6 separate regions of the Homo sapiens genome follow, and regions 1, 2, 3, 4 and 6 are each linked to region 5. The links are contacts of gene promoters, found by promoter capture Hi-C in blood cells and fetal thymus (Javierre and others, 2016). All regions are on one chromosome and are shown on one strand. The core of a region is centred on a gene start or on the middle of the fragment in contact, and the rest is flanking DNA. Distances in the headings are between cores, read along the strand shown.

The links. The method cuts DNA at HindIII sites, captures the fragments that hold promoters and counts their contacts. A CHiCAGO score of 5 or more calls a contact.
Region 1: a fragment that was not itself captured here is called in contact with the fragment with the promoter of RHOD in region 5 in 1 of 17 cell types (endothelial precursors); the score reaches 6.0 in endothelial precursors.
Region 2: the fragment with the promoter of GRK2 here is called in contact with the fragment with the promoter of RHOD in region 5 in 2 of 17 cell types (M2 macrophages and endothelial precursors); the score reaches 6.9 in M2 macrophages.
Region 3: a contact is called between a fragment that was not itself captured here and the fragment with the promoter of RHOD in region 5, in 1 of 17 cell types (M2 macrophages). The highest score is 8.2, in M2 macrophages.
Region 4: a contact is called between a fragment that was not itself captured here and the fragment with the promoter of RHOD in region 5, in 1 of 17 cell types (M2 macrophages). The highest score is 5.4, in M2 macrophages.
Region 6: the fragment with the promoter of ANKRD13D here is called in contact with the fragment with the promoter of RHOD in region 5 in 11 of 17 cell types (M0 macrophages, endothelial precursors, fetal thymus and 8 more); the score reaches 13.8 in M0 macrophages.

Annotation. Positions count from the first base shown.
Region 1 is chr11:67,248,400-67,252,429 of GRCh38, forward strand. KDM2A (lysine demethylase 2A) reads left to right here. Exons shown (of 21, transcript NM_012308.3): 17 at 1,687-2,399. Among named protein-coding and RNA genes, the nearest start is that of GRK2, 16 kb to the right of the region's middle. The HindIII fragment of the contact is 3,131 bases long and covers 1-2,968 here.
Region 2 is chr11:67,264,330-67,268,100 of GRCh38, forward strand. It overlaps GRK2 (G protein-coupled receptor kinase 2), which reads left to right and starts at 2,144. Exons shown (of 21, transcript NM_001619.5): 1 at 2,144-2,483. The coding sequence starts at 2,371. RefSeq lists a silencer at 1,933-2,132 and an enhancer at 3,663-3,712. The HindIII fragment of the contact is 15,021 bases long and covers 1-3,771 here.
Region 3 is chr11:67,214,180-67,217,786 of GRCh38, forward strand. It overlaps KDM2A (lysine demethylase 2A), which reads left to right. Exons shown (of 21, transcript NM_012308.3): 7 at 1,161-1,267; 8 at 1,677-1,770; 9 at 3,552-3,607. Among named protein-coding and RNA genes, the nearest start is that of GRK2, 50 kb to the right of the region's middle. The HindIII fragment of the contact is 5,186 bases long and covers 1-3,607 here.
Region 4 is chr11:67,230,159-67,234,173 of GRCh38, forward strand. It overlaps KDM2A (lysine demethylase 2A), which reads left to right. Exons shown (of 21, transcript NM_012308.3): 12 at 1,408-1,802. Among named protein-coding and RNA genes, the nearest start is that of GRK2, 34 kb to the right of the region's middle. The HindIII fragment of the contact is 2,928 bases long and covers 1,085-4,012 here.
Region 5 is chr11:67,054,559-67,058,526 of GRCh38, forward strand. RHOD (ras homolog family member D) reads left to right here and starts at 2,289. Exons shown (of 5, transcript NM_014578.4): 1 at 2,289-2,476. The coding sequence starts at 2,345. RefSeq lists silencers at 2,188-2,347, 2,358-2,427. The HindIII fragment of the contact is 21,888 bases long and covers 1,193-3,968 here.
Region 6 is chr11:67,287,968-67,291,761 of GRCh38, forward strand. ANKRD13D (ankyrin repeat domain 13D) reads left to right here and starts at 1,336. Exons shown (of 15, transcript NM_207354.3): 1 at 1,336-1,583; 2 at 2,111-2,246; 3 at 2,355-2,479; 4 at 3,509-3,554; 5 at 3,636-3,779. The coding sequence starts at 1,494. RefSeq lists enhancers at 242-451, 1,686-2,610, 2,611-3,533 and silencers at 672-741, 922-1,691. The HindIII fragment of the contact is 22,420 bases long and covers 1-3,794 here.

The DNA of each region.
Region 1 (4,030 bases), core at 153-2,652, 190 kb after region 5:
GACAGAAAGGAGGCATCAAATGTGGGGGATTGCTACACGTTTGCCTTTGCATTAGTGTTCACACAGTTTCTCTGACCTAGGAGATTATTTTTGTTTGGTTTGGTATGTTTTTCCTTTGGTTAATTTTTAGTATTTTCTTTGTTAGAGTTTGTAGCATTGTGTTTTGTATTACTAAATGTTGTTCCACTTGGGATCTGCAAATTCCTAAGGTCCTTTTATACTCTGGGGCCCTACAAAGAGAGGAACCACGGCTGGGCTATTTGAGGAGAGAAATTAGGTGAGTATGATCCCTCCTGAGGAATGTTAACTAGAGGAGAGGCAGTGGCCTGAGGCAGCCAGTGAGTGCAGCAGTGTACTTGAGCTTCCAGTTAAGCAGGTTCACATTTTTGTCATCTTCACTTTTGTGGCCTGGCAGAAAGCCCTGCCCTGCCCATCCCACATGCCCAAATGTGTCATGTGGAGGCAGCCCCTCCCCCAGAGAGGACCAGTGCTATGACCTTGGCCCAGAGGAGCTGAGGTTGCTGACCAGTGGTTGCCAATAATGTCAAAGGGCCAAAAGGACTGTACTTACTCAGGCTGACAAGGCAAGACCAGCTGTGGACACCTACAGGAGGAGATGGCTTTCCAAGTGCCAGTCTTTCAAGGACCCTTGCACGGGAGCAGGGAAGGGGGCAGAAAGGAATTTTCTTACTTTTTATTTCTTCCCACTTGGATACTAAGATAGTTGAATTTTTCAATCTATTTGTCTTTGAGGGCAAGGATTTTTGAAGTTGACTAGGGCCAAAGTTCTCCTTAGTTCTTGCACTAGTGACCTTTACATGTGTCTTCATTAGTGATGTTGAGTGTTTGCATCTCTGCTGTAGCAGATGTGTTGTTGGCAGATGGCTGTGTTTTAGTATTACCTTCTAATACATTGGAAAAGGTAGCACCCAAAAGGTGGTCATTTTCTTCCAACCATAATGATAAAAAAATGTAAGGAGGAAAAGGAGCAGAGAACAGGGTTGTTGCTTAGAGACATAAAATGTCTCCTTGCAAAAAACCTGAACTACTGATACGGTTCCTAGTGGAACATGTTTACTGGGCTTTGTCATAGCATAGTCATAGTGGGCTCCAGGAAAAGACAAGTATCTAGAGAGCACAAATGCCACAGATAAAGTTGGGGGCTCTTGTGGGATTCCTCACCATAATCCTGAGTGAATCTCTCTGTAGCAACCCAGTTTCTCAGAGAGGTTCTTGTTATCTGCTTTATTATTCACGTGGGGGTTGGAGTGGAAGACGCAGCCTGGTGGAGTCAAACTTAGACTGTGGTAGAGCTAGAAGCCAATGGTGTTTACCATTGTCAGACTCAGGATCTTAGTTCAAATGGTATATGTGGGCTTTTTCCACCATGAAACAGAAATACGTCTCTTGGGTGAAAGAGGTAAGTCAGAGACGCAATTAAAAATGGTCAGGCCAGGTGCAGTGGCTCACACCTATAATTCCAGCACTTTGGGAGGCCAAGGCAGGTGGATCACTTGAGCCCAGGAGTTGGAGACCAGCCTGGGCCGACTCTGAGGGAATGACCCCCTCTCCAACGTGACCTTTCTTCTCTCTGGTCCCCTGAGAGCAAGGGAGGTCCACCCTGTCGGTTCAGAGGGTTTGGAAGAAAGGAAGCACTGATGTTGCTTTTCTGGGCCTGTTTTGCAGAAGCGGAAAATGGAAGAGAGTGACGAAGAAGCTGTGCAAGCCAAAGTCCTGCGGCCCCTGCGGAGCTGCGATGAGCCTCTCACGCCCCCGCCTCATTCACCCACTTCCATGCTGCAGCTCATCCATGACCCGGTTTCCCCCCGGGGTATGGTGACTCGGTCATCCCCTGGGGCTGGCCCCAGCGACCACCACAGTGCCAGCCGCGATGAGCGCTTCAAACGGCGGCAGTTGCTGCGGCTGCAGGCCACAGAGCGCACCATGGTACGGGAAAAGGAGAACAATCCCAGCGGCAAAAAGGAGCTGTCTGAAGTTGAGAAAGCCAAGATCCGGGGATCGTACCTCACTGTCACGCTACAGAGGCCCACCAAAGAGCTCCACGGGACATCCATTGTGCCCAAGCTGCAGGCCATCACGGCCTCCTCTGCCAACCTTCGCCATTCCCCCCGTGTGCTAGTGCAGCACTGCCCAGCCCGAACCCCCCAGCGTGGGGATGAGGAGGGGCTGGGGGGAGAGGAGGAGGAAGAGGAGGAGGAGGAGGAGGAAGATGACAGTGCAGAGGAGGGGGGTGCAGCCAGGCTGAATGGCCGGGGCAGTTGGGCTCAGGATGGAGACGAAAGCTGGATGCAGCGGGAGGTCTGGATGTCTGTCTTCCGCTACCTCAGCCGCAGAGAACTTTGTGAATGTATGCGAGTGTGCAAGACGTGGTATAAATGGTGAGCAGGGATTCAGGGGGTCAGGAATTAGGGGTATGGGAGTAGGTGGCAGGTTTTCCATATGAGAACAGCATGCACCTTGGCATCTGAAAGCCTGTGGGGTCTTATGAGGAGTGAATTGACCCTTTTTCCCAAACTTTGGGTCCTGTTTAAAGATGTAGCCTGTTGTACCCGCAGATGTCATTAGGGAACTGGCCATTTGCCTCCTGGCCCTGCTCTATACTTTCCCATGTCTCATTGTTATGGGGAGGGAGACTGATTTGCGGGATAGATTTGTAGTCTGTGATAAAACTTGAGAGTCTTGCGGGCTGAAAATTTCCTCCTCAAGTCAGCTGAACTCATCACATGTTGGTTGAGAGCCTATGATGTTCTAGTCACTCTTCTGGTGCTGATAACACAGATAACCTCACTTAAGCCCCTGACTCAATTACCTCTCCATTCAGTGAGAGAAGTGGGCATGCTTTTCAAGATGAATTTGAAGGTGCTTAACATTTTTCTTCAGTTTTAATGCTCATCCCCCCAAACCTGGATCAGAATTCCCTCTTCCAGCAAGCAGAGTCCAGTTTTGAAGCTTCCTTAATGAGAGCTACCATTTCTTCTTAAGTTGGACAGACACTTGGGGGAAAAAATTGCTAGTGATGATGAACAAGGAGCTTCCCATTGGGCATTGTTGGTTTTTCCTTAAACTCTGGTATATATTTACTCTAGGATATATCCTTTTTATCTGGGTCACACACATCCTATTACAGTAGTGTGGTGTCCTGACCAATGGCATTCACTCAGGAACTTTTTAGAAATGTCAACTGTCAGGACCCTCATAGGCCTCTTAAATCAGAACCTCTTGGGTGGGCCCAGCAGTCTGCTTTAACAAGCGCTCCTCCAGGGGACTCTGATGCATGCTCGAGTTTAGAGCAGCAAAATCTGCTGTATTGTCAGCAGCTTGCTTCTGCCATAGAAGCTTCATGTGCCACTGGTAAAATTGTTTCAGTCTCTAAATAGACCCTATTCTTTGCAAACATGAGTTTATTTCCCAAATCTGAATTAATGTATAGTGTATCTAAATTCTCCTTAATATTTCTCTGTCTAGGGCTAATAGGACTGCTTGGCTCTACCTCTTGGTTTTCAGGGCAAGGCACATCAGATTCCCGTTATGTGCTGTCTCTCTTCCCCTGCCAACCAGGCTGGGGGGCAGGGGCTATAAAATATTAAATTGAAGCCAGCATGTTGTGGTTTGTGGCCTGTAGATTTGTAGACTGCAGTGGAAAGCCAGGCCTATCCCTTTCAGTTCTGGTCTGGCCTGGCTAGAAAATGTCAGGATAGCACTGAGGCAGAACTTGAGGGTGAGAGAGGACTCTGTAAGCCTGATAAAGAGCCTCTTTTGACCTGATACAGTAATGGGCTGAAGGCAGGGTGAATTGTGGATGTGCTGAGTAGCACCCTGCATTTCAGGCAGCTGCGAGTGATTGACAAGGGAGGGAACGGAGCAGGCCTTCTTAGCTTTAGACAGTAAGAAGTCTAGAAACTTCAAGAGGCTCCCTTATATACACTTCAGCAGGAACCATGCCATTTTAATACAGATGAAGGGGCTATAGACTGTTGCTTGCTATGGGTCCCTAACAACTGTTGTGTTC
Region 2 (3,771 bases), core at 894-3,393, 210 kb after region 5:
CTCCCCACTGTCGAAACTTGCAACAATGCATCTTGCAACTGAAAATGGAAAACAGGGCCTAGAAGGTGGTAAGTGTAGAATTGGAGATGTACATAGTTGGGGTCAGGGAGTCAGGGAAGACTACCTGGAGGAGGTGAGTCTTAGCGGATGAGTAGGAGTTGTCCACGGAGGAAGGTACACAGAAGGGCTTCCAGGCCCAGGAAACAGCAGAGGCACAGAAGTGAGAATGGGTGGGTGAGTTGGTGGGGAAACTCCAGGTGCAGAGGATGGTAGCGAAACAAACTGGAGCATTCAAGGTCCAAGTCCTCCAAGATCTTGACTTGCAGATTAAGGAGTTTGTTCACCTAATCTGCTTTGGGCAGAGTGTGGTGAGTCCTAGAGACCCCTCTAGGTCTCTCACTCTCAGTAGCCCCAGAAGGCCTGGAGAGCTGCTTCTGGGTGCCAAGCAGGCAGTGACTCCATCAGATCTAGATTTGGGAAAAGCATCCCTGGTCAGGGCCTGCATCAGGGCAGTGGCTGGCCATGAGGACCCTGAGAAGTAGACAGATTCACGGAGATTCTCAGGAGGCCAGACAGGAGACTATGGTGACAAATTAGATTAGAGAAGGGGAGAGAATGAAGGAGCAGTTGGGGAAAAGAAAACTGAGGCTCTGACATGGGTATATGGGTGGCGAGTGACTCACCACCCACTGAGAGGAGAACCTCACAAGCTCTGACATGCTCTGGTTCCAGGTTCTGTTGGGGCTGATCCAAGATGGTAGCCTAGAGGTGCACAGAGATGGGGGCCTTGCTTTGCAAAAGGATGCTGGCTGCTGGCCCACAGCATGGTAATGAGATTTGAGCTTTATGTGCCCAGGGCTGGGAGGAGGGTCCTGTCACTTTGAAAGCAAAGAGAGGCTCTAGAGAGGGGCATGTTGAGATAGGAATGCTGCCTTGAGACACCTGGCTTTCCCCACTCTGGGTGGGCTCTCAGCAGGGTGGGTTTCCCCTGCCAGGCAGCACTGAAACCTCTGTGCGCTTCCGGGCTGGGAGAGTTTTTACCGTAACTACATGTGGAACCATCCTGAAGGAACATCTGGATGGGATGGGGTACAGGGAAGGGAGCTGCCAAGAGTGCTGGCCAGGGACCTGGGTCTATGAGCTGGTTGGGGGGTGGGGTTGGGTGCAGGGTACTTGATCCTGAGTGGGCCTTCTGCGGCCAGGATTGGTTCTAGAGTAGGAGGGGTGGGATCAGGGATGGGGGAAGCCTGTAACTGCGCTGCAGTTGTCAGGTCCCAGGTTCTGGGTGACCTACTAAGGATTCTGGGTCCAGTGTGGGTCCCAGGTTAGACGTCCTAGTCCTGAGTCCGTGTCCACAGTTCTGGGTGTTGAGTCTAGGACAGTGATCTGGAGTTGACAGTCCAATCTAGGTCTGAGTCCTGACCCCAAGTCTAGAGTTCAGGGTCATGGTAGTAGCCTAGGGTCAGAATCAAGGTTGGGGTCAGTAACCAGGATGGGATCGAGGTCATGGTCCAAAATCTGGATCTGGGGACCTGTTGGGGGTCTGAGGTGAGTGTCGCAGTCTGGGTATGGCGTTGGAGACCCAGGGCTGTGATCTGAGGTCATGGTTAGAGTCTGAGGTGGTGGGCCAAGGTTTGAGTCTGGGGTCCTGTTTGGAGTCTGGTGTCAGGTCGTGGACTGCGTCCAAGGTCAGGGAGTCCGGGGTTATAGCCAGGGTCTGAGATGAAAGTCCCAGGATGGTGTTCAGAGGTCTGAATCTGTGTCTTGGTGAGCGTCCAGGTTCCCTGTGATCACGTTTGGTGTCAGGGCTGCGGCCCGACTGGGGAGCCTGGGATCCAGAGATGTGACCCGAGGTTGTGGTCAGAGAATGGGTCTCGGGTCGTCTTCCGTGCCGGGTCCCTGTCGTGTTCCAGGCCCGGGTCTCCGTCCAGCATCGAGGGCCGAGGTCACGGCCAGGGTCTGAGCCCGCGGTCGCAGGTCTGGTTCGGGGTCAGATTCCGCGCGGCCTCCAGGGGGCGCCGTCGCCCGCCCGGCTCGGCCCCTCGCGGGCTCGCTGGCGTTGTGCGCGGCAGGCGGGGCCGGAGGCGGCGGCGGCTCCGGGGCGCGGGCGCGCGGGCGGCGGCGGCGGCGGCGCCCCGACTGCAGTCCCGGCGGGAGCGGAGCGCGAGCCGGGGCCGGGCCCGAGCCGGCGCCATGGGGCGGCGCCGCCTGTGAGCGGCGGCGAGCGGAGCCGCGGGCGCCGAGCAGGGCCAGGCGGGAGGCGTCGGCGCCCGAGGCCGAGCGAGCCGCGGCCGGGCCGGGCCGAGCGCCGAGCGAGCAGGAGCGGCGGCGGCGGCGGCGGCGGCGGGAGGAGGCAGCGCCGCCGCCAAGATGGCGGACCTGGAGGCGGTGCTGGCCGACGTGAGCTACCTGATGGCCATGGAGAAGAGCAAGGCCACGCCGGCCGCGCGCGCCAGCAAGAAGATCCTGCTGCCCGAGCCCAGGTGAGGAGAAGCTGCCCGCGGCCCCGGCCCGACCCCGCGGGCGCCCCGGCCGCGGCCCCGAGACCCTGGCCCCATGCTCGACCCCGCGACCTGGACCCCCGGGGCCGGCTCTCGCAACCCCCTGTCGGCCCCCCAGCCCGGAGCAGCCCGGCCTTGGCGCCTGCGGGTCCAGACCCTAAGCCCCAGACCCTGGGCGCCTGAGCCCGGAGCGCCCCAACTCCGGAGCTCCTCTGCCCCATCGGTCCCCGGACCCAGTCGGGTCCCCCTGGCCGCCCTGCTGCTTCCTTATCGTGCTCCACCGGCCCCCCGAAGTCGCTGTCAGCCCCTGGCTCCCGCCTTCTCCCACGGGGGCCCGGCGCGCCCCTTCATCCTTCTCGGAGCAGCCCTTGGTCCCTGTGGGGTCCCCTCCCCTCCGCTGGCCACCATTTACCTCGCCTGACGATGTCACCCACCCTTTTGCTGTCCCTGCTCACGGCACTCGCTTTAGGGTTTCCACTACCCCCACCCGTCTCTCCTCCAGTCTACACTTGTGTGAGGTGTTGGGGGACAGCCAGTCTTCCGGACTCTTCTCCCACCCTCTGGTGGGGTCGCTGTCCTGGAGTTGGGCTCGAGAGTGCTTTCAGGGCGGCGTGGTGAGCAGGACCTAGGGTGCTGCGGGCACCCTCCCCCTCGGACCGCGCTCAGGTCGGGGAAACATCCCCTGTGCCCTCTCCCCTACATTTCTCCTCTGGCAGGCCCTGCATATGGTGCCCCGTGGGTGCTGTTGACCAGGGGCCCTCCCAGCACACCTGCAATGGCTGGACCTTAGCTGCCGCCTCTGTAAGACAACTGACATCACACCTGGTATCAAAGTTTAGACTGTTCAGGATGTAGGTGCAAAAGTACACAGGATGTGGACGATTGCTGCGGTTTGTCCAGCATTTTATGGCTGATAGAGTATCTCTCCACTGTGTGAGCCTCTCAGCAGCGCATGGGGTGGCGAGGACAGGTGTGGTTTTGTCCCTGTGGAACAGATGGGGAAACTGAAGCTCCAGAGGTGAGTGGCCTGCCCCGAGTCACACAGGTAGTCCCAGGTGGCACCTGGCCAACAGATCAGGGCTTCAGACTTCTGGTTCTACATTTCATCAGCTACCCTGGCCTGTGCCAGGGAGCAGACGTGCCCGCCACGATTCTTTGTGTCGTGTGGCAACTCCTTGTGCATGCCTGAGAGTTGGCCTCCTCCTGGTGCCCCAGCGGGCTGGGGATGGGGCCTGTCCACACTGCCGTGGTCTTATCTTGTGACTCTGGG
Region 3 (3,607 bases), core at 420-2,919, 160 kb after region 5:
ACAGGCATGCGCCACCATGCGCAGCTAATTTTTTTTTTTTTTTGAGACGGAGTCTTGCTCTGTTACCCAGGCTGGAGTGCAGTGGCGCAATCTCGGCTCACTGCAAGCTCCGCCTCCCGGGTTCATGCCATTCTCCTGCCTCAGCCTCCCGAGTAGCTGGGACTACGGGCGCCCGCCACCACGCCTGGCTAATTTTTTGTATTTTTAGTAGAGATGGGGTTTCACCATGTTAGCCAAGATGGTCTCGATCTCCTGACCTCGTGATCCACCTGCCTCGGCCTCCCAAAGTGCTGGGATTACAGGCGTGAGCCACTGCACTGGGCCTAATTTTGTATTTTTAGTAGAGACGGGATTTCTCCATGTTGGTCAGGCTGGTCTTGAACTTCCGACCTCAGGTGATCCGCCTGCCTTGGCCTCCCAAAGTGTTGGGGATTACAGGTGTGAGCCACTGATCCCAACTATTTTTTTATTTTGAAGAGATGGGTTCTCACTGTGTTGCCCAGGCTGGTCTTAAACTCCTGGGTTCAAGTGATCTTCCCACCTTGGCCTTCCAAAGCTCTGGGATTGCAGGTGTGAGCCACTGTGCCTGGTCTATCTTAGTTTTATAGATGAGTTTGAGGGCCTTATATAGTCTTGAAAAGACATGATAGACCTGGAGCTTCTTATTCCTAAGCTGGTAGTTTCTATAGCACATTGTCAATGCAAGGCTATAAATCTATACTGGATTTTTTTCTTTTTTTTGGCCTAACTTTTGGCATCTTAACTGTTCTAACAATGGTATATATTTTGCTGAGTTTATAGATACCTTCCAGACAACACCTTTTATTGGATTAAAAAATAAAACAAATTATATAAGTATTGACATAGAAGAGAGTTCATAGTTATACACTATTGCATAATTAATGATTCCATTTTGACTAGTGCTGTCTTTACTATTATCATTTGATGGAATGATTAATCTTTATTCTCATATAACAATTATTTCTAGGATGGTTGCCTAGTAATCCTAAGATTCGCCAACAGATTTTTTTAATTTGCTTATAATTAAATTATAGTTTTTTGTTATGTATTTTAAGAAATTCTGCTTTTCTTGACTTTAAAATTATCTTTGACCCCAACCTTTCCCTTGGAGCCCAAGTGTTTCCTCCTTCTATTTAAAGGTGGATTTCATTGACTGGGTAGACAACATGTGGCCAAGGCACTTGAAGGAAAGCCAGACTGAATCAACAAATGCCATCTTGGAGATGCAGTACCCTAAAGTGCAGAAGTAAGTGATGCGCCCTGCATCTTCCTCCGTGTGCTGTGGGAGACCAAAGCAATAGCAAGGATTGGCTTCTCCCTTACGAGCTTTGCTCTGTGTCTTGAATGATTAAAAAGATGAATTATTTAAAGATGAGACTTTACAGTTCCACAAGGAAGAGTGTATGTGAGCATACCATAGCACACAACCACACAGTTAAAGGAAAAAAAACTTACATTTTAGTCAATACGGTAGAAAAAAAAAAAACCTTTTTCTGATAATGTGATGACTTGAAAATGCATTGCTTTTTCTCCTTCTGGAACTTAAGATTAAGTGGAAGATAAAGGGAGTATATAAGAGGAGAGTATGGCATTTTGGTGGGGCAGATGTACTTTTTTCCATCAGTACACTAATGCTGCTGCTTTTTTTGGGTCAGGTACTGTCTAATGAGTGTTCGAGGCTGCTATACTGACTTCCATGTGGACTTTGGTGGTACCTCTGTTTGGTATCACATCCATCAAGGGGGAAAGGTATGGTCATAGTTGTGATAGGGGTTGGAATCTGAAGTTGGTTGTATGACTTTGCTTCAGTTCATGTATACTTAATATACCCTGGAAATGAATCTGTTAGGGAATTGTCCCCATTCGTATCTGGAAAGAATTATAGATTAAGTTCACCTTCTTGGCTAGTGTTCAGTAGAAATTAGTATTCATCTAGTTCACTGTCATTACACCATTGGCACAGCACTTAGTAAATCTCAATAGTCCTGTTTCTAGATTCCTGAATCAGAGTTCTCCAAATGAAGCCAAAGAAGTGATTTTAGAAGGACAAGATAATTTCTGTACTTGGAAGTATAATAAATAGTGGAAGGGAACACGAATTTTGGATAGATTCACTGTGAAATCAGCAAATTAAGATCTAAACCAACTTTCCCTCTATGTAGCCATTGGTCTGAAATATGGCCAAAGGAAGCCTTTAAGTCCTTTTTGAGGATGTAAACAGGTTTTGAAGGATTATCTTTATTCATTCAGTTATATTCCAGCTTGTGAAAATGCTTCTGAATGCTATATGAGAATGGAAATCTAGAATTAATACCCGAGGTTTATAGTATTATACTCTTGTTACTCTTTTTTCTCTAACTTGCAGTGAATGCATTTGTAAGAGAAAAGTAGGAACTAGAATGAGAATAGATAATGCCTTGTTTAAAACATGAGGTCTTGGCCAGGCATGGTGGCTCACGCCTGTAATCCCAGCACTTTGGGAGGCCAAGGCGGGCGGATCAGCTGAGGTCAGGAGTTCAAGACCAGCCTGACCAACATGGAGAAAGTGCATCTCTACTAAAAATACAAAATTAGCTGGGTGTGGTGGTACATGCCTATAATCCCAGCTACTCGGGAGGCTGAGGCAGGAGAATCGCTTGAACCCACAAGGTGGAGGTTGCGGTGAGCTGAGATCGCGCCATTGCACTCTAGCCTGGGCAACAAGAGCAAAACTCTGTCTCAAAAAAGAAACAAACAACAACAACAAAAAAACATGAGGTCTTGTCCGGGCACAGTGGCTCACGCCTGTAATCCAACACTTTGGGAGGCCAAGGTGGGTGGATCATAAGGTCAGGAGATCGAGAACATCTTGGCCAACATGGTGAAACCCCGTCTCTACTAAAAATACAAAAATTAGCTGGGTGTGGTGGCGCACGCCTGTAGTCCCAGCAACTCTGGAGGCTGAGGCAGGAGAATCGCTTGAACCCAGGAGGTGGAGGTTACGGTGAGCCAAGATTGTGCCACTGCACTCCAGCCTGGACTACAAGAGTGAAACTCTGTCAAAAAAAAAAAAAAAAAAAAAAAGTCTTAATCAGAACAACTATGTCTCCAAATCCAAAAGTCATTTTGTTTGCTTCAGATCCCTTTAAGCCCTGTTGATCTTAGTTACTACCTTGGACAAAACAACCTGAGCCAGTCTCTTGAAGATACTGTGCCTAATTAACTGTACTACTTAGGACTCTGGAAGCCAGACAGAGTGTTTAAGGGACTGCCTAGGTAATGAGCTGAATGGTCCCTCTTCTCTCCGAGTCCTGGATGGTGTATAGTCAAACCCAAGGGAAGCCTTAATGCTGTTGGATCAAGTGAAGGATAAGAAAGATCTACTGCCTTGGACCTTCTAGGGTTTACCACATAGTCAAGTTCTATAGGCTGGGAAAATTGCTTGCCTTTCTTCTACCTGGTGGTCTTAATTTTGTACCTGTTTATCAGTTGAGGGAGACGACTGGGTCATGTCAATGGCTGTTAACAGACTAAAGTTTTTTAACTCACAGGTCTTCTGGCTCATCCCCCCTACAGCCCACAACCTGGAGCTGTACGAGAATTGGCT
Region 4 (4,015 bases), core at 1,299-3,798, 180 kb after region 5:
GAGCGAGACTCCGTCTCAAAAAAAAAAAAAAATACATCTAATAGAGCTAGGCACTGTGATGAGCACCTGTAGTCCCAGCTAGTTGGGAGGCTAAGGCAGGAGGATCACTTGAGTCCAAGAGTTCAAGACCAGCTTAGGCAACATAGTGACACCCCCATCTCAAAAAGTAACCAACAAAACACATATAGACCAGGCATGGTGGCTCATGCCTGTGATCTCAGTACTTTAGGAAACCAAGGTGGAAGGCACACCTAAGTCCAAGAGGTTGAGACCAGCCTGGGCAACATGACCAGACCCTGTCTACAAAAATTTTTTAAATTAGCTGAGTGTTGGGGCACATGCCTCTGGTCCCAGCTGTTTGGGAGGCTATTGTGGGAGGATTGCTTGAGCCCAGGAGGTTGAGGCTGCAGTGAGCCATGATTGCATCACTGCACTCCAGCCTGGGCAAAAGAGTGAGAACCTGTCTCAAAACAAACAAACCACAACATAAAAAAAAAAAACCCACATAATAATCATACACATCTGTTAAAGCATGGAAAGAAAGTATATTGTACTGTTCAGTTGTTATCGTAGGATGGAGGGATAAGGGATGACTTATTTACCGCTTTGCGCCTTCTTGCATTTTCTAAATTATAAAAGAAAAGACTGGTGAACATTTATCACTGTGTTTTGACTATCAAAATCTTCCTTTTCAAAAATAGTCACTTTGTTTTGTTACTTATGTTGTTAGAATTTCAACTCCAAAGCTTGATTTTAAGACCAAAACTTCAGACAAAAAAAAAAAGTTTTTTGGTTTTTTTTTGTTTGTTTTTTTTTGAGACAGGGTCTCACTCTCTTGCCCAGGCTGGAGTGCAGTAATATGATCGCAGCTCACTGCAGCCTCAACCTCCCAGGCTCAAGCAGTCTTCCCACCTCACCCTCCCTAGTATCTGGGACCACAGTCATGCATCACTATACCCAGCTAATTTTTTTAATGTAGAGATGGGGTCTCACTATGTTGCCCAGGCTAAAACTATTTTTTAAACATACATGCTTCTTAGTGTCTTCTCTTTTAAAAGGTAATGAAATAATAATCCCAGATTCAAGCTTTAACTTGAAACTGACTTTACAACCACTTTGATAAGTAACTGATTTCTAGTACACAGTTCAAAGACTAGGTCCTACCCAAACTTTAAAAAATCCAATTGACTATTACCTAGGTGTCCTCCTAGGTCAGGATCCTGTTTCTACCTGTTAACTGTGATTTTGAACAGTGGACAAATGGGTTGGAATAAAGATAGACCATTTTTTTAAATGTGGTAATTTTGTCATTTATAGCCTCAAGGCCCCTATCATGCCACCTATTTCTCTTGCTGATCACATGGCAGAGTGAAATGTTCTTACTGCATTTTTTCTTCATATTGGTAGATTTGGAGTTAAATGGGTTGGAGTCTGGGAATGGGGATGAGGAAGCAGTGGATCGAGAACCCCGACGCTTGAGCAGCAGGCGTTCTGTCCTCACTAGCCCTGTAGCGAATGGAGTCAACCTGGATTATGATGGACTGGGCAAAACCTGCCGAAGTCTTCCAAGTCTGAAGAAAACTTTGGCTGGGGACTCATCTTCTGACTGTAGCCGGGGCTCCCACAATGGACAAGTGTGGGATCCCCAGTGTGCTCCCCGAAAGGACAGGCAAGTGCATCTGACCCATTTTGAGCTTGAAGGCCTTCGCTGCCTTGTAGATAAGTTGGAGTCTCTGCCACTGCACAAGAAATGTGTCCCCACAGGGATAGAAGATGAAGATGCTCTCATTGCTGATGTAAAGGTAAGGGTTTGATGTGTTACATGACAGCTACTGATCCAGCTATGGCAGTCAGCTTCCAGATTCAGAGGGAGAAAATATAGGAATTTTGGGTGATCTCTGGTTCAGTCAGAGAGAAGTTAATATGCATGTGTGTTTGTTATTGCTGCTCAGTGTTTTCATTACTAGAATGAGGTTATGTCCCTGTTTTGAAAATACTAACATTTATGTGTTCATTGAAGACTTATAAATTTAGTCTTAAACATAGGTTTCAGGCTGACCCCAAAAATAAAGTGACCCAAAGAAAATATTTATATAAGAAATGTTACATTAAACTTAAGTTACCTTGAGATAAAACTCAGGACAAAAGTGACTGATAGGAGTCTCATCCTAAGCAGATTGAGAGAAATGAAATTGTTCTATGCTGGGTTAACGTTGAGTAGCTTTAGCCTCTTTAGATTCAAATTTATCTAGCATCAAGACTTAAATACATTGGGAAAAGCATCATTTTAAAATAATTCATCCCATTGCTTTATCAAGTTTTATGTTTATTTATTTTTTAATTATACTTTAAGTTCTAGGGTACATGTGCACAACGTGCAGGTTTATTACATAGACATACATGTGCCATGTCAGTTTGCTGCACCCATTGACTCGTCATTTATGTTAGGTATTTCTCCTAATGCTATCCCTCCTCCAGCTCCCCTTCATATTGTATATTTTTCTTAAGGAATCCAGACTTGAGCTTTTTTTTTTTTTTTTAATTTTAATTAATTAATTAATTTATTTGAGACGGAGTCTCACTCTGTCGCTCAGGTTGGAGTGCAATGGCAAGATCTCGGCTCACTGCAACCTCCACCTCCCGGGTTCAAGCAGTTCTCGTGCCTCAGCCTCCTGAGTAGCTGAGATTACAGACACGTGCCACCATGCCTGGCTAATTTTTTTATATTTTTGATAGAGATGGGGTTTCACCATGTTGGCCAGGCTGGTCTCGAACTCTTGACCTCAGGTGATCTGCCTGCCTCAGCCTCCCAAAGTGCTGGGATTACGGGCATGAGCCTCCACACCCAACCTTGAGCTATCTAAACTGGAGGAAATTATTTTAAGTCTTTCCTCCTAAGTAACAATTAATGTGAAGACCAAGAATTGTAAAGCTGGAAATAGCAATTTTATTTTTAAATCAGTGTTTGGAACAATGGGTATGTATATTAGAAAGCTAATCTACAAGTTGTAATGTTATTTTGAAAACCTCACATAGATTATTTTAAGCTACTTTTAAGCCATTTTATAAATTTAGGGGGGCCAGGCACAGTGGCTCACACCTGTAATCCTAGCACTTTGAGAGGCCAAGGTGGGAGGATCACCTGAGGTCAGGAGTTCGAGACCAGCCTGGCCAACATGGTGAAACCCCATCTCTACTAAAAATACAAAAAAAGGCTCAGTGCGATGTCTCATGCCTGTAATCCCAGCACTTTGGGAGGCCGAGGCAGGTAGATCACGAGGTCAGGAGTTCAAGATCAGCCTGGCCAAGATGGTAAAACCCCGTCTCTACTAAAAATACAAAAATTAGCTGGGTGTGGTGGCAGACACCTGTAATCCCAGCTACTCAGGAGGCTGAGGCAGGAGAATCCCTTGAACCTGGGAGGCAAAGGTTGCAGTGAGCCGAGATTGCGCCATTGCACTCCAGCCTGGGTGATGGAAGTGAAACCCTGTCTCAACAACAACAACAACAAATCCATTGGAGTAGTTTAACTAAAGTAGCTAAATAAGGAGATTTGAGGTGAAAGGGTGGTACAATGGTATACCAAAGGAAAAAGTAGAAAGATTTGGGTTAAATATTAAGCAGAGTCAGCAAGAAGAGAGGGGAGTTAAGAAGAGACATCTAAAGAGGAGGCTTAGCATTATGAAAAGTGTCCGGAGATAGCTTGCTTGTGTTTATCAGGGACCACTGAAAAACGTGACTGCCATCACTGGCTAAGATATAGTGGCAGAGGCCAGAGCATGAGGAACAAGTAGCCAGTGAGATGACTACACAGGCCGACAGTGTTTGAATTCTCCCTCCAGAGACTTGTCCACAGCTTCTCGTTTACCCAAAACCACAGTCAAAATGTAGCTGACGTCAGAAGACAACAGATTTAGATTCCAGCTCTGCAGGTGTAGTTTCACTTAAGATCAAATAGATTAATTATTCCTATATTTGATCAGTTATGCTAAATCTCAGAAAAGATATAGCAAGC
Region 5 (3,968 bases), core at 1,039-3,538:
AACACTAAAACAGTAAACAGTACCCTGGCCAGGCAGACTGTGTGACCTGGGCCACCACTCTAAAAATAAATTCCAGGAAAACAGTATGGTCCCAGGTCCAGCAATGTCTGAGATTCAGGGACATTCCCTGCCAACCAGAGCCGATTTCTGTGGCCTGGTGACTAAGCTCCCTCTCGCAGGAGCGTAAGCATGGTGGGGGAGCGGAGGCTGGGGCTTGACGTCAGGAGATTGAATCCTTGCTGTGTCCTGCTGGTCTAAGACACCCCTCTGCCTCTCTCTGAGGCTCAGTTCCCAAATCTGTAAAATGGGAGGAAGCAGGTCATCTGCTTGGTCTACCTCGTGGTCTGAGAGCTAAATGAAATTGCAATTGTGCAGATGAGGCGTGATGGAGGGAGACCACCTGGCTTTGGGGTCACGCCTGGATCCAAATTCTAGTTCAGCCTCTTACTAGCTGTGGATGTTAGTCAACAACTTAGCCTCTCTGGGCCTCAGGCTCCTCATCTGTGAAATGGAGCTAAGAGTCCCTACCTCCTAGGGAACAGTGCCTACACGTGGCTTGCAATCCACTAATGGGTGTTGTTATTATTAGGAAATGTTCAGTGAAACTGTATAGCATGACAAACATCAAGTGTGTCATTACAGAGATTATCCCTATAGCAACCAAGGCCAAACGCCTCTGCCTGACTCTCAGCTCCCTCCACCCCCAGTCTGGCCCCACCTGCCTTCCAGCCTTGCCACCCAAGGCCTGACGACAGCAGCAGTTGGGAGGAAGATGCTGACAGCTGATCCGAGGGGGTGGGGCCCCTCTCACCACTCCTTGGGGCGGGGAGCCCTGCTCTGGAGCTACCTGCCCAGCCCAGTGTCAAGTCACTGCCGAGCCCTGTGGCAGTTTCGGGGAGGAAGGGGCACCTGGAAAGGCAGAGCTGTGCTGGGGAGGATCCTTCCCTCCAAGTGGGGCTCCATCCAGCCTGCAGACCACAGCCCGGAGCGGGAGCCGGGCAGAGGAGTCAAGGAGCTGGGCTCTGCCTCTCCACCTAGTGACTCCTGCCCTGGCTGCCTCTTTAGACCACAGTGAGTTTAAAGGAGGTTGAAGGTGCTTTTTCACCTGCCTGACTTGGAACTCCATGAGGGGGGATGTCATGACCAGCATAAATTAGGGGGAACCTAATGACGTCTGCCCCTTGTTCTTTTAAGCTTCAATAGAAACACTCAGTCCAAGATCTGGGAAGACCCTTGTGCCCATTTTTAAAAGATTTCAACTCTGGCCATTAGGAGAAGTGGAGAGATCAGGTGACAATGAGTTCCCAGTTCAATGCTGGATTTACTGCTGGCATCCAACGTGCTCCACTGAGCAAGCACCAGCTCCTCATGCTGCACCACTGTGCAAGCGAGCCTCACCCTCTGCGGGGGCGGGGTGGGGGGGCAGCATTCCGCTCCGGCCTCCGCAGCTTCGCACGTGCCGCTGTCTCCGGTGGAACACCTTTTCCCTCCCCCATCTGACTGTGTTTCACTTTTTCCTCAAGACTCTGAAAGGTTTCCTGACTCCCTCAACGTGGGCGAGGAGCTCTTTTCCCCTACTCCCGTCCCGCTGCCTGTCCCTACTCCCGTTGTAGTTCTGATCACACTGATGTCCTGCGTGTCTACCATTCTAAGCCGTGGGCTTCTCAAGGCAGGGCCTGGATTTTGTCTTAAACAGTTCAGGGTCCCCGGGCCCTTGGGCACCAGGGGGACATCTCATGGTGCAATAATAAGAAACACTCACACTTTACAGAGGGAAGGTTCTATCGCTTTCCCTAGATCGTGGCCAGCCACGGTGTCAGGTGGCTGCCCACCTGCAGCAGAGCTTCCTGGTGCTGCGGGAGGGGGCAGGCCAGGCCTGGTGGGGCCAGTGAAGGGGGTCATCCCCTTCCCACCTGGCATGAAACGCCTGTGTTGTGCTGCGTCCTGAGACCCCTGGGGAAATGCACCATTCATTCATTCATTCATTCATTCACTAAAGGTCACTGGCTCCTGCCTGGGATCTGGGACCCAGCCCCTGAGCACACCCCCGCCCCCACTGTCATGGTCCCGCTGTTTGTCTTCTCCCTTCCGACCTCCCGTGGCCCCAGCGCGGCCAGCTCACAGTAGGTGCTCGGGCAGCGTTTCTTCAGGGACCTAGACGGCCTGGAGAGGAAGGGCCCCAGCCCAGCCGCCCGGGCCTCTCACCTGGCTCTCGGGGCGCCCGGCTCGCACTTCCTCCCGCCGCCCCGCCCCTTCCACATTCCTGCCCCGCCGGGCCTGCCCCGCGCAGTCTGGGTCTCTGCGCCGCAGCCGCCCGCCCGCCCGCTCAGCGCCCGGCCCCGGGATGACGGCGGCCCAGGCCGCGGGTGAGGAGGCGCCACCAGGCGTGCGGTCCGTCAAGGTGGTCCTGGTGGGCGACGGCGGCTGCGGGAAGACGTCGCTGCTGATGGTCTTCGCCGATGGGGCCTTCCCCGAGGTGAGTGCCCCGCGCCTCCGCCTCGCCCGGTTCCGCTCGCGCGCCCGGGTGTACAGGTCCGTGCCGGAGCGGCCCAGGCTGTGCGCCTAACCCGGCCTCCGAGGGGTGTCCCAGCGGGGCCTGGGGTCCAGGGCAGAGTTCTTCCGCCCCAGCCATTGGGAATGAAGGCCTCAGTGATGTTATCTGTAAAGCCGGAGGAATGGCATCCACCGGGGAGAGGTGTCACAAGGACTGAGTGAGGCGACCTGGGTGCACACAAGATCCTAAGACAGCACTTGGCCACACAATTCCGCTGAGGGCCTGAGAGCTTGGAAGCCAGACTGCCGAGGTTCAAATTATGGCTTTGCCTCTTATAGCTGTGTGCCCTTGGGTAAGTCCCCTAACCCTGCTGTGCCTGTGTCCCTCACTACATCACAGGTGAGTGACAGTGCCCACCACACAGGGTCACTGTGACAGAGAGTTAATAGACCTCAAGCACTCAGCCCCGGCCTGTGCACAGGAAGGACTCACGGAGAGTTGGCACATGTCGCTCCTGGGAAACATTGTCTCCCTTCCAGCTCTTGCCGCTGGAAAGCACATGCCATGGGCTCTGCCTTGGAGGGTGGGAGCACGCCAGCTGTAGCCTCAGCTGCTGGGCCCGCGTCTCTGCTCTCCTCTGAGCCCCGTGCCCTTTTGTAACCTGCTTAGCTTCTCTGAGCCTCAGTTTCCTCACAACAACCCCATGGGGTAGAGGGACTGTAGGGCAGTGGTGAAGTGGAGCCCAGGGGAGGCTGACAGGCAGCTCCCGTGCGGTAGCTGGCATGTCCTTGGCGCTGTAGGCATGCCCACCGTTAATCCTTCCTGACATGCTCACTGACTGCCCAGGCAGACTCCACGGGCACCAGGCGGCCCCTGCTCTGCCGCCTCTCAGCCCTGTTGTCCTGGGAGTCCATGGAGTTGCTTCCAGCATCTCTTCTTTTTTTTTATTTTTATTTTTTTTGAGAAGAGTCTCACTCTGTCACCCAGGCTGGAGTGATATTGGCACAATCTCAGCTCACTGCAACCTCCGCCTCCTGGGTTCAAGCGATTCTCTTGCCTCAGCCTCCTAAGTAGCTGGGATTACAGGCGCCCACCACCACGCCTAGCTAATTTTTAAAATTATTTTATTTTATTTTATTTTTGAGACGGAGTCTCGCTCTGTCGCCAGGTTAGAGTGCAGTGGCACAATCTCGGCTCACTGTAACCTCTGCCTCCCAGGTTCAAGCGATTCTCCCGCCTCAGCCTCCCGAGTAGCTGGGACTACAGGCGCGTGCCACCGTGCCCAGCTAATTTTTGTATATTTTTAGTAGAGACAGGGTTTCGCCATGTTGGCCAGAATGGTCTCGATCATTTGACCTGGTGATCCGCCCACCTTGGCCTCCCAAAATGCTGGGATTACAGGTGTGAGCCACCACACCCAGCCAATTTTTTTATTTTTAGTAGAGATGGAGTTTTGCCATGTTGGTCAGGCTGG
Region 6 (3,794 bases), core at 86-2,585, 230 kb after region 5:
CACTGTCATGGAATTAAGTGCCAGTGGGGAGCTGTGTTCAAGATGGCAGAAATCAGGAGAGGCTGGAACCAAGAAAGTCCTGTCGGGGTTGAGTTTGGAGAGGGCTCAGGGAAGGGACCGCCTCTGAGAAAAGGGGTGGCCAGGGAGGGCTGCAGTAGTGGTGAGCAGGTGAGCTCTGGGCATTCAGAAGCCTTCGGGCTGCTACCAACCCCAGGACCTCACAGATTGACACCATAGCGTGGGGTGGCAAAGTGACCCCAGATGGCACAGGCGCCATGTGACTACAGGGAGAAGGCAGGGTAAAAATGGCAATCAGGCCTTCCAGCCCAGAGTCTCAGAACTGAGGACGCCCTACAGCAGGAAGTGATGCTCAAGCTAGCTGGCCCTCCTCAATCATGTTCCACGTAGGGAAAGGGAGAATAGAGGGTCAGCCTTGGCCACCTAGCAAAACCAGGGCCCCAGACCCCAGGCTGGGCCTCCAGTAATCAAGGGCCGGAACTGAGCTGACGGAGGCCTGCACCCTAGTTCCGGTGTGGGTGGAGGGGCCGGCCCTGATTTCGAAACTCGCCTTCCTCTCCTGACGCTGGCAGCCAACCGCAGCCTCTGCAAAAGGGACTCGTGCGGCGGGCGAAGGCAGCCGTTCGCCGCGGGCGGTCCTCCGCCGGGACGGCTCTGCCGCTGCCTGGGCCTGCGCCCCTCTCTCCCCGAACTCCTATCCCTGACTTCAGGGCCCCGGGGGCCGCCTCCCCGCATCGCTGGGCCTGCAGACACCGGCCAGGTCCCAGGGGAAGGTGCTTCCCGCTCAGCCGGCAAGCACTTAGTGGCGTCTGCTCGTTGCTCGTCTCCAGGCCGGGTGAGGGGAGCCGGGGCGCCCCACTTCACCCGCACACCCCAGCAGAGTCGGTGACCGCGGGACCTGGGGTAGGAAGACCGGGGCGAGCAAGGGGATCCGCGGGGGAAACGCAGGCATCACGGCTGCAGCAGGACCGCGGCCCGCCGCGCACGCGCGTGCACTACCGAGGGGCCCAGTGCCCGCCCCCTCCGGCCCCGCCTTCCTCTTCCGGACCCGGCTCCGGGGGTCTGCGCAGGGCTCGGGGCGCCTCCTGCGGGCCGCGGGCGGAGCTGTAACCGGGCACCGCCCTCCAGGCCGCCCCAGCGGACCCGGGCCCGACCGAGGTCGGGGCGCAGACCCAAGGCCGGGCATCTCCTCGGGCGCTCGCGGTTGCTCTGCCGCGCGCTGGCCTGGCCGCGGTTGCCATGGTTGCGGGGGGACGGGGGCGCGCGCGAAGCCCCGCCCCGGCCCGGCGCAGCCCCGCCCGCTCCGCCGCCCGCCCCGCCCTCCCTGCCGCCCGCGCTGCCGCCGCCGCCGCCGCCGCCGCTACTGCTGCGGGGGCCGCGGGGGGCGCAGCTGGGGCGCGGCTCGGAGGGGAGGCTAGGGGGCCGTGCCAGGCCCGAAGCCGAGGCGGGGCCGGGATGCGGCGCTGAGGCCCAGCATGGCCGGCCCGGGCCCCACCTTCCCGCTGCACCGGCTCGTCTGGGCGAACCGGCATCGCGAACTGGAGGCCGCACTGCACAGCCACCAGGTGAGGCCCCGCTGGGGCACCCGGCCCTTCCCCCGGGTCCCCCACCCAAGGCTGTGGCCTCCGTCCTGGAGCCCCCCCCCCCCCCCCGCCCGCTCAGCTCCGCAGCCACATCCTGGGCCTTCCTCCCCTGCACGATCCCAAGCCCAGGTCACCGGCCCCTCGCGCCTGAGCCTCTGGCCTCCTCTCCCCTGCGCTGGGCCTTGCCCTGCTCGCCCGAACTCGCTTCCGCATCCTTGCTGACCCAAGCTGAGAACAAGAACTCTGGTCCTGGTCCCCAGGTTCCGCCAAACTCCTGACAACCTGCAGCTCTGCCTGACCAGGCCCCGCCGCCAGACCCCGGCTCTGCCCCTGCCTTCCCTCCTGCCCCCTCCTCTCCCCTGCCAGGACACGCAGGCCACCCTCTGCCATCTCCCTGGTCAGTCCGCCGTCCTTATTTCCCACAGCGATTCCCAACCCTGCTCGCCCTGGCAGCCTCCCTGCCTTGCCCTCTTCTCTCCTGCCCTTTGTGAGTGTCCCGTCTCCCCCAGCACGACATTGAACAGGAGGACCCCCGCGGGCGGACCCCACTGGAGCTGGCCGTGTCTCTGGGAAACCTGGAGTCTGTGAGAGTGCTCCTTCGACACAATGCCAACGTGGGCAAAGAGAACCGCCAGGGCTGGGCAGGTACTGCAGAGGACAAGGGGCTCCCCCTGAGGCTGGCAGGCGGGGGGCAGTGAGCAGCCAGGCCTGGGGTCATCTGGAGGGCTCCCCTCAGCAGCCTGGTGCCCGCAGTCCTGCAGGAGGCAGTCAGCACTGGAGACCCCGAGATGGTGCAGCTGGTGCTCCAGTATCGGGACTACCAGAGGGCCACGCAGAGGCTGGCGGGCATTCCGGAACTGCTCAACAAACTTCGCCAGGTACAGCAGGGCACAGTTATGGAGGTGGGGTACCATGGCAGGGCACCACCCTGGTTACTGTGCCAGGCCTGGCCTTGGAAAGGCACCCAGTTTGTGCAGTGTGCCTCCTGCCACCAGCAAGGAGGTCTGTCTATCTTGACCCCAGCCCAGGGTCACGTAGGAAAGAGAGACGGCCAGGCTCACGTGGGAGAGACTGGACCCTTTGGAAGAGAAGCCTTGCCAGCTTTGGGCCTCCTGAAGAATGCAGATTACCTGGAGCAGGGACTTCAGGTTGACTCGGTGGATTATGGCCTGAAACCCTGGAATACTTGCTACTACGCACCCTTCTGGAAGCACACGGAGGGGCCTGGCTGGCAGAGCATACTATCTCATACCCCCTACCCCAGGAGCAGGCTCGGAGGGAGCCACTGTGCCCCCTTTACAGAGTAGGACTCTGAGACCCAGTGGAAACAAAGGCTCCCCCAGGGCTCTGCACAGGCTCATGGCCAGGTTGAGGCTGGCCCTCCACCTCCAGGTGCTTACAGCCTCATTGTCTGAAGACCACTGTAGTGCCCCACTTGGCCCACCCTCTCCAGGGCAGAGTGGTTGGGCGTAGCTGAGCCATAGCAGTGCGTCAAGACTTGATGAAGGGCCAGGCGTTGTGGCTTACTCCTGTAATCCCAGCGCTTTCTGAGGCCAAAGTGGGCGGATCACTTGAGCCCAGGAGGTGGAGACCAGCCTGGGCAACATGGTGAAAGCCGTCTCTACAAAAAGTACAAAAATTAGCTGGGAGTGGTGGCACACACCTGTGGTCCCAGCTACTCGGGAGGCTGAGGTGGAAGAATCACCTGAGCCCAGGGAGGCAGAGGTTGCAGTGAGCCGAGATTGCACCACTACACTCCAGCCTGGGTGACAGAGCAAGTCTCAAAAAAAAAAAAAAAAAAAAAAAAGACCTGATGAAGGGCTGGGCTGGCTGTGGACAAGGGGCTCCCAGGCCTGCTGGAGCCAGCAGCAGGCAGGGCGCTGACAAGCAGCTCTGGTTTCTCTTAGGCCCCCGATTTCTACGTTGAGATGAAGTGGGAGTTCACCAGCTGGGGTGAGTGGGGACCTCTGGGCTCCCAGGGATTTGGGGTGGGGCCTTTGGAAAGACCCCCAGTGACCCCTGTGCACCCTGCAGTGCCCCTTGTGTCTAAGATGTGCCCAAGCGATGTGTACCGCGTGTGGAAGCGGGGTGAGAGCCTGCGAGTAGACACCAGTCTCCTGGGCTTCGAGCACATGACCTGGCAGCGGGGCCGGAGGAGCTTCATCTTCAAGGGCCAGGGTGAGCTCTGGACAA